Regions from separate parts of the Homo sapiens genome. Here all the other regions are linked to region 3. The links are contacts of gene promoters, found by promoter capture Hi-C in human tissues and cell types (Jung and others, 2019). All regions are on one chromosome and are shown on one strand. The core of a region is centred on a gene start or on the middle of the fragment in contact, and the rest is flanking DNA. Distances in the headings are between cores, read along the strand shown.

Region 1 (2,700 bases), core at 75-2,574, 330 kb after region 3:
GGTGAGTCCTTGCTAAGCACATATTTTCTGAGAGCATGTTATATTTGGAGTCCTGTGCTAAGCAGTTGCAAATGCAACAAATGATCTGGCATTTGCCTTAGACCAGCAGATCTCAACCAGGTTGATTTTAACTCCTCTTCCCTCCAGGAAACCTTTGGCAATGTCTAGAAATATTATGGGTTGTCACAACTATGGGGGTGCTACTGGTATCTGGTGGGAAGAGGCCAGGAATACTGCTGGATATTCTACAATGCACGTGACAGCCCCCTATGACCAAGGATTAGCAAGCCCAAAGTGTCAACAGTGCTGAGGATGAGAAAATCTGCCTGTGGGGAATGTGGGGCTGTATCAAGGGAGGCACCAAGTGTCCTATTATTGATGGGATTAAAGAAGACTAAAGAAAAATATTATTTCTACAATCTCTCCCAGGTTAAAATGAAGCGATTCAGTCAAGATACGTGTGGCGCACATGATCCTGCAGAGGTGGAAGCCCACGCCAAGATATTCTGGCAGCACCTACCCTGACTTCCATATTACACAGAAAGTTGTCAGCCTGGGTGAAGAAGGAACCAGGGCACCCAACTCATCTGACTGAAAAACAAAACACCACAAGAGGAATCCCAAGACCTAACCAAAAGATAATCTAGACTATGGTAACAGAAGGAATTCAGCGTTAATGCCCTTGAATTAAGAGTTTCCTCCAGAGAATAGAGATACAAATAATGACTATGAATGACCATTAAGCCTTAATGTGCATATAAGAAGCACTTGGACTACAAGCTCTTACCAATTGCTCCCTTTTTGCAGATAAAGACACAGAGTGCTTCCTGAGAAGTCACACACAGGCAGTGGTAGAGCCAGGTTTAAATTCAGACCCTGTGTGTCCCCAGAAAATCAGGTTTTTTGGACTCATACTGCCTCATAACTAGACATTATGGCTCTTGGTAGTCTGTTTTTTTATTTTTATTTTTGAGACAAGAGTTTCACTCTGTCACCCCAGGCATCGTGCAGTGGCATGATCTCAGCTCACTGCAACCTCCGCCTCCTGGGTTCAAGCGATTCTCCTGCCTCAGCCTCCCGAGTAGCCGGAATTACAGGCATGCACCACCACGCCCAGCTAATTTTTATATTTTTAGTAGAGACGGGGTTTCACCATGTTGGCCAGGCTGGTCGCGAACTCCTGACCTCAAGTGATCCTCCCGCCTCGGCCTCCCAAAGTGCTGGGATTACAGGTGTGAGCCACCTTGCCTGACCAATAGCCTGTGTTTTTGTTTGGGGTTCATGCGTGACAGAAACATAAGGAAAGGACGGAAAAAAAAGTTAAAACTATATACACTTGACCTAAAACAAAAAAGATTTATTAGTCTCAGTATTTAAAACAATACAAAGGGAAGATATTGTCCCAATGAGGAGAAAGAAAAATGGATTGTCTGGAAATGTTTTATGACTTTCTTATTATGAAGACATTCTAGGCCAGGTGTGGTGGCTCACACCTGTAATCCCAAGCACTTTGGGAGGCTGAGGCTGGAGGACTGCTTGAGCCCAAGAGTTTGAGACCAGCCTGGACAACATAGTAAGACCCTGTTTCTACAAAATGAAAAAAATCAGCCAGGCAGGATGGAGCACACCTGTAGTCCCAGCTACCCAGGAGCTTGAGGTGGGAGGATCCCTTGAGCCCAGGAGTTCGAGGCTACAGATTATGCCACCCTACTCCAGCCTAGGTGAAAGTGAGACCCTGTCTCGGGGGGTGGGGGAGGGACAGAAAGAAAACATTCTTCCCGAGAGTCTATCAGAGTATCAGAGTCACAGAGAAGGTCTGCCTTGGAAATTTTCTGGAGAATGAAATACAGATGACACTAAGAGCTATTTGCAGATATTTTCTGCAACAGCCATACTTATAGCAACATTTAGATGCAATGTTTTATGAAAGTGGGAAGCTGAATAAAACAAGTAAATTCACTGCCTGCACTGAAAACATGCTTAGCATGTAGGGGTTTTCTATACACACACACAGCATGCATACACACACACATATATAGCATGTAGGGGGTTTTCTATACACACAGTATGCATACGCACACACATATATAGCATGTAGGGGTTTTCTACATATATATGTAGTACTACGCAATGCATATGCAGCAGTCTCATATTACAGAGAATGCACTTCACATAATTCTCCAACATACCAACACCTTGAACAAAAATAATGTTCCTTTCTAAATATGCTAAATTATTTCCATAAAACTCATAAACTTTTATACCTAGAAATTTATGAAAACCTATTGACAACTTTTATGCCTGAAAAGATCTGAAAGATTGATCTCATGTTAAACAGGATTTCCTTTTTCTTGTGGTCCGAGGGTAAAATGGAAGAGAAGGTGAGCCGTCACAATAGCAACAAAAGCTCACACACTGCGGGCTCATGTGTGCCCTATATGTGCAGGATTTTATTTAGCTCTCCATAACTTTATGAGATGGATACTGTCATCCCCATTTACAGAGGGGAAACTGAAGCTTAGGAGGGTTAAGTGCCTTGGCCAAGCGCACAGAGCAAAGTGTAACCACTAATGATACAACAAACAGTTTAAATCTGTAAAGAACTGTTTGCGTTAAAAAATTTAAAGACAATTTCTATTTTTCTTTGTCACTAAACTTGAGACATCTGTCCCCACAATTGCCTTGTCAGCCAGGCTAAAA
Region 2 (2,700 bases), core at 86-2,585, 480 kb after region 3:
GCATATTCTAGCAGGGCATAGCAGATAATAAAGAGGTAAAATATAGTCTGGTATGTTTTTAAGCTTCATGTACATGGAAGTAGATGGTTTCTATTCTGTGGTTGGCCTTTTCTCCCTGCTACGTGGAGAGATTCATCCTTATTGGGCAGCTCTGCTTCCTTCTGGTTTTTTTTTTTTTTTTTTTTGAGACAGGGTCTCGTTCTGTCGCCCAGGCTGGAGTGCAGTGGCGTGATCTTGGCTCACTGCAGCCTTGACTTCTCAGGCTCAAGCAGTCCTCCCACCTCAGCTCCCCTAGTAGCTGGGAGTACGGGTGTGCTCAGTGAGTACGGGAGTACTATGTTTCTCAGGCTGGCCTTGAACTCCTGGGCTCAAGCAATTCTCCCCCCTGGGTCTCTTTCACCGCTCTGTGGTGGTCTCTTTCGTGAATACTCTGCCACTTGCCCGTTGTTAGGCATTTGCATTGTTTCCAGGTGCTTGTCACACTCACATTGTGCTGTGAACATTCCTGTGTTCGTCTCCCTTGTGTGCCTGAGAGAGGATTCTAGGGTGTGTATGCAGGAGTGGAATGGTTTGGTCAAAGGGTATGCCCAACTTTTCCAGGAGGGAGGTATCCATTTTCACCCCACCAGCCCTGCACGAGTGTTCTATTGTGTCATAACCTAACGTTTGATAATTTCACATTTTAATTTTTTTTTTTTTTGAGACAGAGTCTTGCTCTGTTGCCCAGGCTGGAGTGCAGTGGCACGATCTCGGCTCACTACAACCTCTGCCTCCCAGGTTCAAGCAATTCTTGTGCCTCAGCTTCCAGAGTAGCTGGAATCACAGGCGTGCGCGCACCACCATGCCTGGCTAATTTTTTTGTATTTTAGTAAAGACAGGGTTTCACCATGTTGGCCAGGCTGGTCTCAAACTCCTGGCCTCAAGTGATCTGCCTGCCTCGGCCTCCCAAACTGCTGGGATTACAGACATGAGCCACCATGCGTGGTCCACATTTTAATTTTTGGCATCAAACTTTTTTGGGGAAAAAATTCTCTTTACATGTATCCTCAAAATATGCACAACTATGATATATCAATAAAAGCAAACACACAAAAGAATAAAAATAGATTGAGAAACAAACAGAAAAAAATACCTAGAGAGATCTCTGCTTGCTGCCTCATCCCTCAGCCTTCTCAAGTGCAGTGGTACGATCTTGGCTTACTGCAACCTCCACCTCCAGGACTCAAGTGATCCTCCCACCTCAACCTCCCTAGTAGCTAGGATTACAGGCATGCACCAATATGCCCGGCTAATTTTTGTATTTTTTTAGAGGTGGGGTTTTGCCATGTTGTTCAGGCTGGTCTCGAACTCCTGAGCTCAAGTGATCCACCTGCCTCAGCCTCCCAAAGTGCTGGGATTGCAGGTGTCAGTCACCACACCTGGTCAGGCTGTGATTCTCAAGCATATTATAATCACCTGGAGAGCTTGTTAAAAGCAAAGATTTTGGCTGGGCGCAGTGGTTCAAGCCTGTAATCCCAGCACTTTGGGAGGCTGAGGTGGGCAGATCACCTGAGGTCAGTTCGAGACCAGCCTAGCCAACATGGAGAAACCCCGTCTCTACTAAAAATACAAAAATTAGCCGGACGTGGTGGCGGGCACCTGTAATCCCAGCTATCCGGGAGGCTGAGGCAGGAGAATCACTTGAACCCGGGAGGCAGAGGCTTGCAGTGAGCCAAGATCACGCCACTGCACTCCAGCCTGGGCCACAGAACGAGACTCTGTCTCAAAAAAAAAAAAAAAAAAAAAAAAGCCCAGGGAGTTCAGTTCAACAGGAGAACTTTGTTTTTCACAAATCCCCCAGGAAATTCTGATGCAGGCGGCCTGAGTCCCACTCTTCCTTTTTTTCCCCAGTGTCTTTATGCTGAGGGCCTGACCCCTGGTCTCTTTTCAGGTGAAAGTAGTTACTCCTTGATCTCAATTTCCATCTAGCTGTGCCCTTCTGGATCTCTGCAGCCTGTGGGCTCCCCTGCCTTCCCCATGGGCAGCTGCTACTAGGCATATCCACTTAGATGCCCTCCAAGTTCTCTAACCCAACATATCCAAAATGGAGCTCACCCCATTCCCTGAATCAGCCCACTCTCTCCAGAGGGCTCTTAGGCCATCAGGCCCTTTGGGTCTGCCTCAAGGCTCTCAGCATAAAGTGCGTGATTGGCCATGGGCTGCACCTCCTTGCCCTAACCCCAGCCACGTACAATGCATGCTTTATGCTCTCACATGCCCCCTTGCTGCTGTTCCCTCGTTCTGAAACCCTGTCCCAGACTTGCTGACTCCAACCTGTCCTGCGGGTCGCCACGGCTTTTGAGGGGTGGGGGAAGGGAAGGGCAGGTACTGATGGGAATGCTCACTTCCACTCCAGGACTCTTGCTTACTTCTTACATGGCTCATAAAGGTGCAGCTCGTGAGGTTACCTGTCTTTGGTAATGCCTCTAGGTCCAAGCATCTTACTTTTTTTTTTTTTTTTTGAGACGGAGTTTCGCTCTTGTTGCCAAGGCTGGAGTGCAATGGCGCGATCTCAGCTCACCGCAACCTCCGCCTCCCGGGTTCAAGTGATTCTCCTGCCTCAGCCTCCCGAGTAGCTGGGATTACAGGCATGTGCCACCACGTTCCGCTGATTTTTTGTTTTTGTAGTGGAGATGGGGTTTCTCCATGTTGGTCAGGCTG
Region 3 (2,700 bases), core at 166-2,665:
AGAGGGCAGCATAGTGGCCAGGCAGTTTATTTCCATACTAGGAGATACAGAAGGGATTAATTCTAACCGTAGGAATTCTAACCATCAAATGTCACTCACTGGCCTACCTAAACTGAACTCTGGTCCCAGCCAGAACAAGTCAGGAAGAGGGGATGTCTAAGACCGAAAGGGGGGCTTTCTAGTTAAGCTCTTCAGGCAGGAGAGGAAAAGGATGCCCGCATCCCCAAAGACACCTTTAGCTACCACAAGCCCCAAACCCCGTACTTTGTAACTGTGTCTAGTTTACGTCCTTTAAAAATTATTCTTATTAAGTTAAATTGTTTTCGGGGCGGGGAAGATACAAAAGAAACCAGTTAAAGTCTGAAAGGATAGAGAGGGGAAAGTTTCTCACCTCATTCTTCCAGCCACCCAGTTCCTCTCCTAAAAGGCAATCTTTACCAGTTCCTTCTCTAACGCCCCTCCTTTTTAATTTGATTTTTTACCGAAAGCTCGCTCCCTTTTAATTTTCCCTCAGGTTTCTGAAAATTTCCCAATCGCAGCCCCTCCCAGCAGGGAAATAGTAAAGGGGCTTGGTTTTTATGTTCAACCCAAAGCAAGCCTACAAAAGGGAGTAGTCGGTTTCGAGCCTGACGGTGGAGCTGACGCGGGAATGAGAGAGAACCTGAGAAGACCGCCAGGGCGCCCTCCCTGCGGAGGCGAGTCCCTCACCGCCCCTCTACATCGTCCTTTTCAATAAGGAGCTCTTAATACCTGCAACTGCTTCCTTCAAGGGGTGGCTGGAAGATCAGTAGGCAAGGCCTGCGGACTGCGCACCTTAAAGCGCTTCGGGACCGTAAGACAGTGAGTGCTGAGCGCGCGGCCGGGAAGAAGCCTGGAGGCTCTGAGCTCGGAGGACAGAGACCGAAGCCCCAGGGCCTGCGTCCCTCACAACCTGCGCCTCCTGTCCTCCCGCGCTACTCCCGAAGCGCACCTTCTCGCCCGCAGGCCGCAGAAGTGATGACGCAAAGCCCTCGGGGCCTCCGCCACCTCCTCACGCTTCTGCTGGACCGAATCCTTGGAATGGACAGGTAGCGGTTCCCGATTGCTATAGCGACGACCCGGCTCCGAGCCGCGCCCAGGCCCTGACCCGGGCGTCGTGACGTCAGCACGCCTTCCCTGGGCGCTCAGCCTCGCTGGCCATGCGTCACCCCGGCCTTGGTGGGGGCGGGGCTCCGAAGAGCTCGGTTCAGATCCCGGCCGCCTGGGCTCCAGGAGCCCCGGAACCAGGATAAGTTGGATGGCTGCCGCGGCGAAGCGGGGGGCGGGGTGGACCGTGCCCGGTATTTTCTATACGGGTTCCGGGGCCCGGTAGAGGCGCGCCAAGAGGAAAGGAAAGTGCGGCGGCCCTGGAACCTGGATATCGCGCGAGGCAAGCTGCGCGCGGGCGGGCGGGCTATGGCGCAGGCGGGTTGTGGGGCCGGCGCTGGTGGCGGGGCCCGGTGCATGGCGGTCTGTCGGCGGAGTCGCCCTCGGGGGCTGTCAGGTTGGTGGCTGCGGGAGGAGTGGGCCAACCATGCCCAGGGCGGGAGGCCGGGCGGGCGCAGGACCCCGGGAAGGTCCCGAGCCCGGCGTGCCCACCTCCCTCCGGCCCTAGCAGGGCGGCCTGGCCGCTGGACCGCGGCCGGGCCCCCTCCCCCACCCAGGGTCCCTGCCCCTCTTTTCCGCCTTGCGGCTCCTCCCCCGTGACTCCCAAACCTCACCCCGTGACGGCGCCCGCCTCCACCCTTGTGACCCCACACCCCACCCACTGACCCCAAGACCTCACCAGGTAACCGTTGGTTATTATTCATTGGCTGCTAACCCAGGAATTTCCCCAGCACTTCTCAGAGACCCACCAACCAGTGACTCCCTCAGTTTTAATCCGGTGACTCACATGACCCTGAGATCCCCACACTCCTCCTTAGTGACCCCCAAACCTGGGTAACCCTCCTGGCCCAGTAACCCCCCCGATTCTACCTTGTGTTCCCCACAAACTCGGTGACTCCCCTCAAAACTCTGCTGGCGACTCCTAAGCCCTACTCCAATAGTTTTCCACGCACTCACCTTGTACACAACCCTCAGTATCTTTATCCTGTAGCCGTATGACCCTCGTTCCACGTCTGCCTTTATCCTAAAATCACCCCCACTGGCATCTCTCTCTGCGATCCCAGCCCTTCAGTGTCAATCAGCACATGACTTACAAGCGTCCAGCACCTTTCTGGTGCTAAGGAGGATATAGAGATTAATATGAAGTAGTAATAATTGGAGGCATCAGAGAATTCTGGATCAATCCAGAATCCAGTCAATCCAGTGTGTGGTCCCAGCTCTGTCACTGCTGTGCTTTAGGGACCTGTGAGAAGTCCCCTCCTCAGTCTGGACCTCAGTTTCTCATCATGACTGTGATGAGGTTGGGTTAGATGATCTTTGAGTTTCCTTCCGTCTGTGAAATTGTGAAATTATGCAGTTCTCAGTCAAGATAATAATTTTTTGCAATCATTTTTGTACCCCACCCTGGAAATTTCCTCTTGTAACCTCATCCCAGGATCTGCTTGCATCATGAACCTTACTCCCTCATTCCCGGATCACCCTCTTCACTCTTCATAGTGCATACCCATTTCCCTTGATCAGGCCCCATCAGTTAACATGTTTGCAAAGCAGTATAGCAGAGTGCTTCATTTGGGG

The links. Contacts are between HindIII fragments. The study calls those that stand out against the background at their distance.
Region 1: a contact is called between a fragment that was not itself captured here and the fragment with the promoter of ZNF76 in region 3, in 1 of the 25 tissues and cell types used here (neural progenitor cells).
Region 2: a fragment that was not itself captured here is called in contact with the fragment with the promoter of ZNF76 in region 3 in 1 of the 25 tissues and cell types used here (spleen).

What each region holds. Positions count from the first base shown.
Region 1 is chr6:35,592,601-35,595,300 of GRCh38, forward strand. All of the region lies in intron 6 of FKBP5 (FKBP prolyl isomerase 5), which reads right to left. Among named protein-coding and RNA genes, the nearest start is that of LINC03135, 50 kb to the left of the region's middle. The HindIII fragment of the contact is 3,978 bases long and covers 1-2,700 here.
Region 2 is chr6:35,740,733-35,743,432 of GRCh38, forward strand. All of the region lies in intron 3 of ARMC12 (armadillo repeat containing 12), which reads left to right. Among named protein-coding and RNA genes, the nearest start is that of ARMC12, 5.1 kb to the left of the region's middle. The HindIII fragment of the contact is 4,861 bases long and covers 1-2,700 here.
Region 3 is chr6:35,258,320-35,261,019 of GRCh38, forward strand. It overlaps ZNF76 (zinc finger protein 76), which reads left to right and starts at 1,416. Exons shown (of 14, transcript NM_003427.5): 1 at 1,416-1,522. It overlaps SCUBE3-AS1 (SCUBE3 antisense RNA 1), which reads right to left and starts at 1,136. Exons shown (of 4, transcript XR_001744102.2): 1 at 971-1,136. RefSeq lists silencers at 1,399-1,518, 1,529-1,848. The HindIII fragment of the contact is 24,264 bases long and covers 1-2,700 here.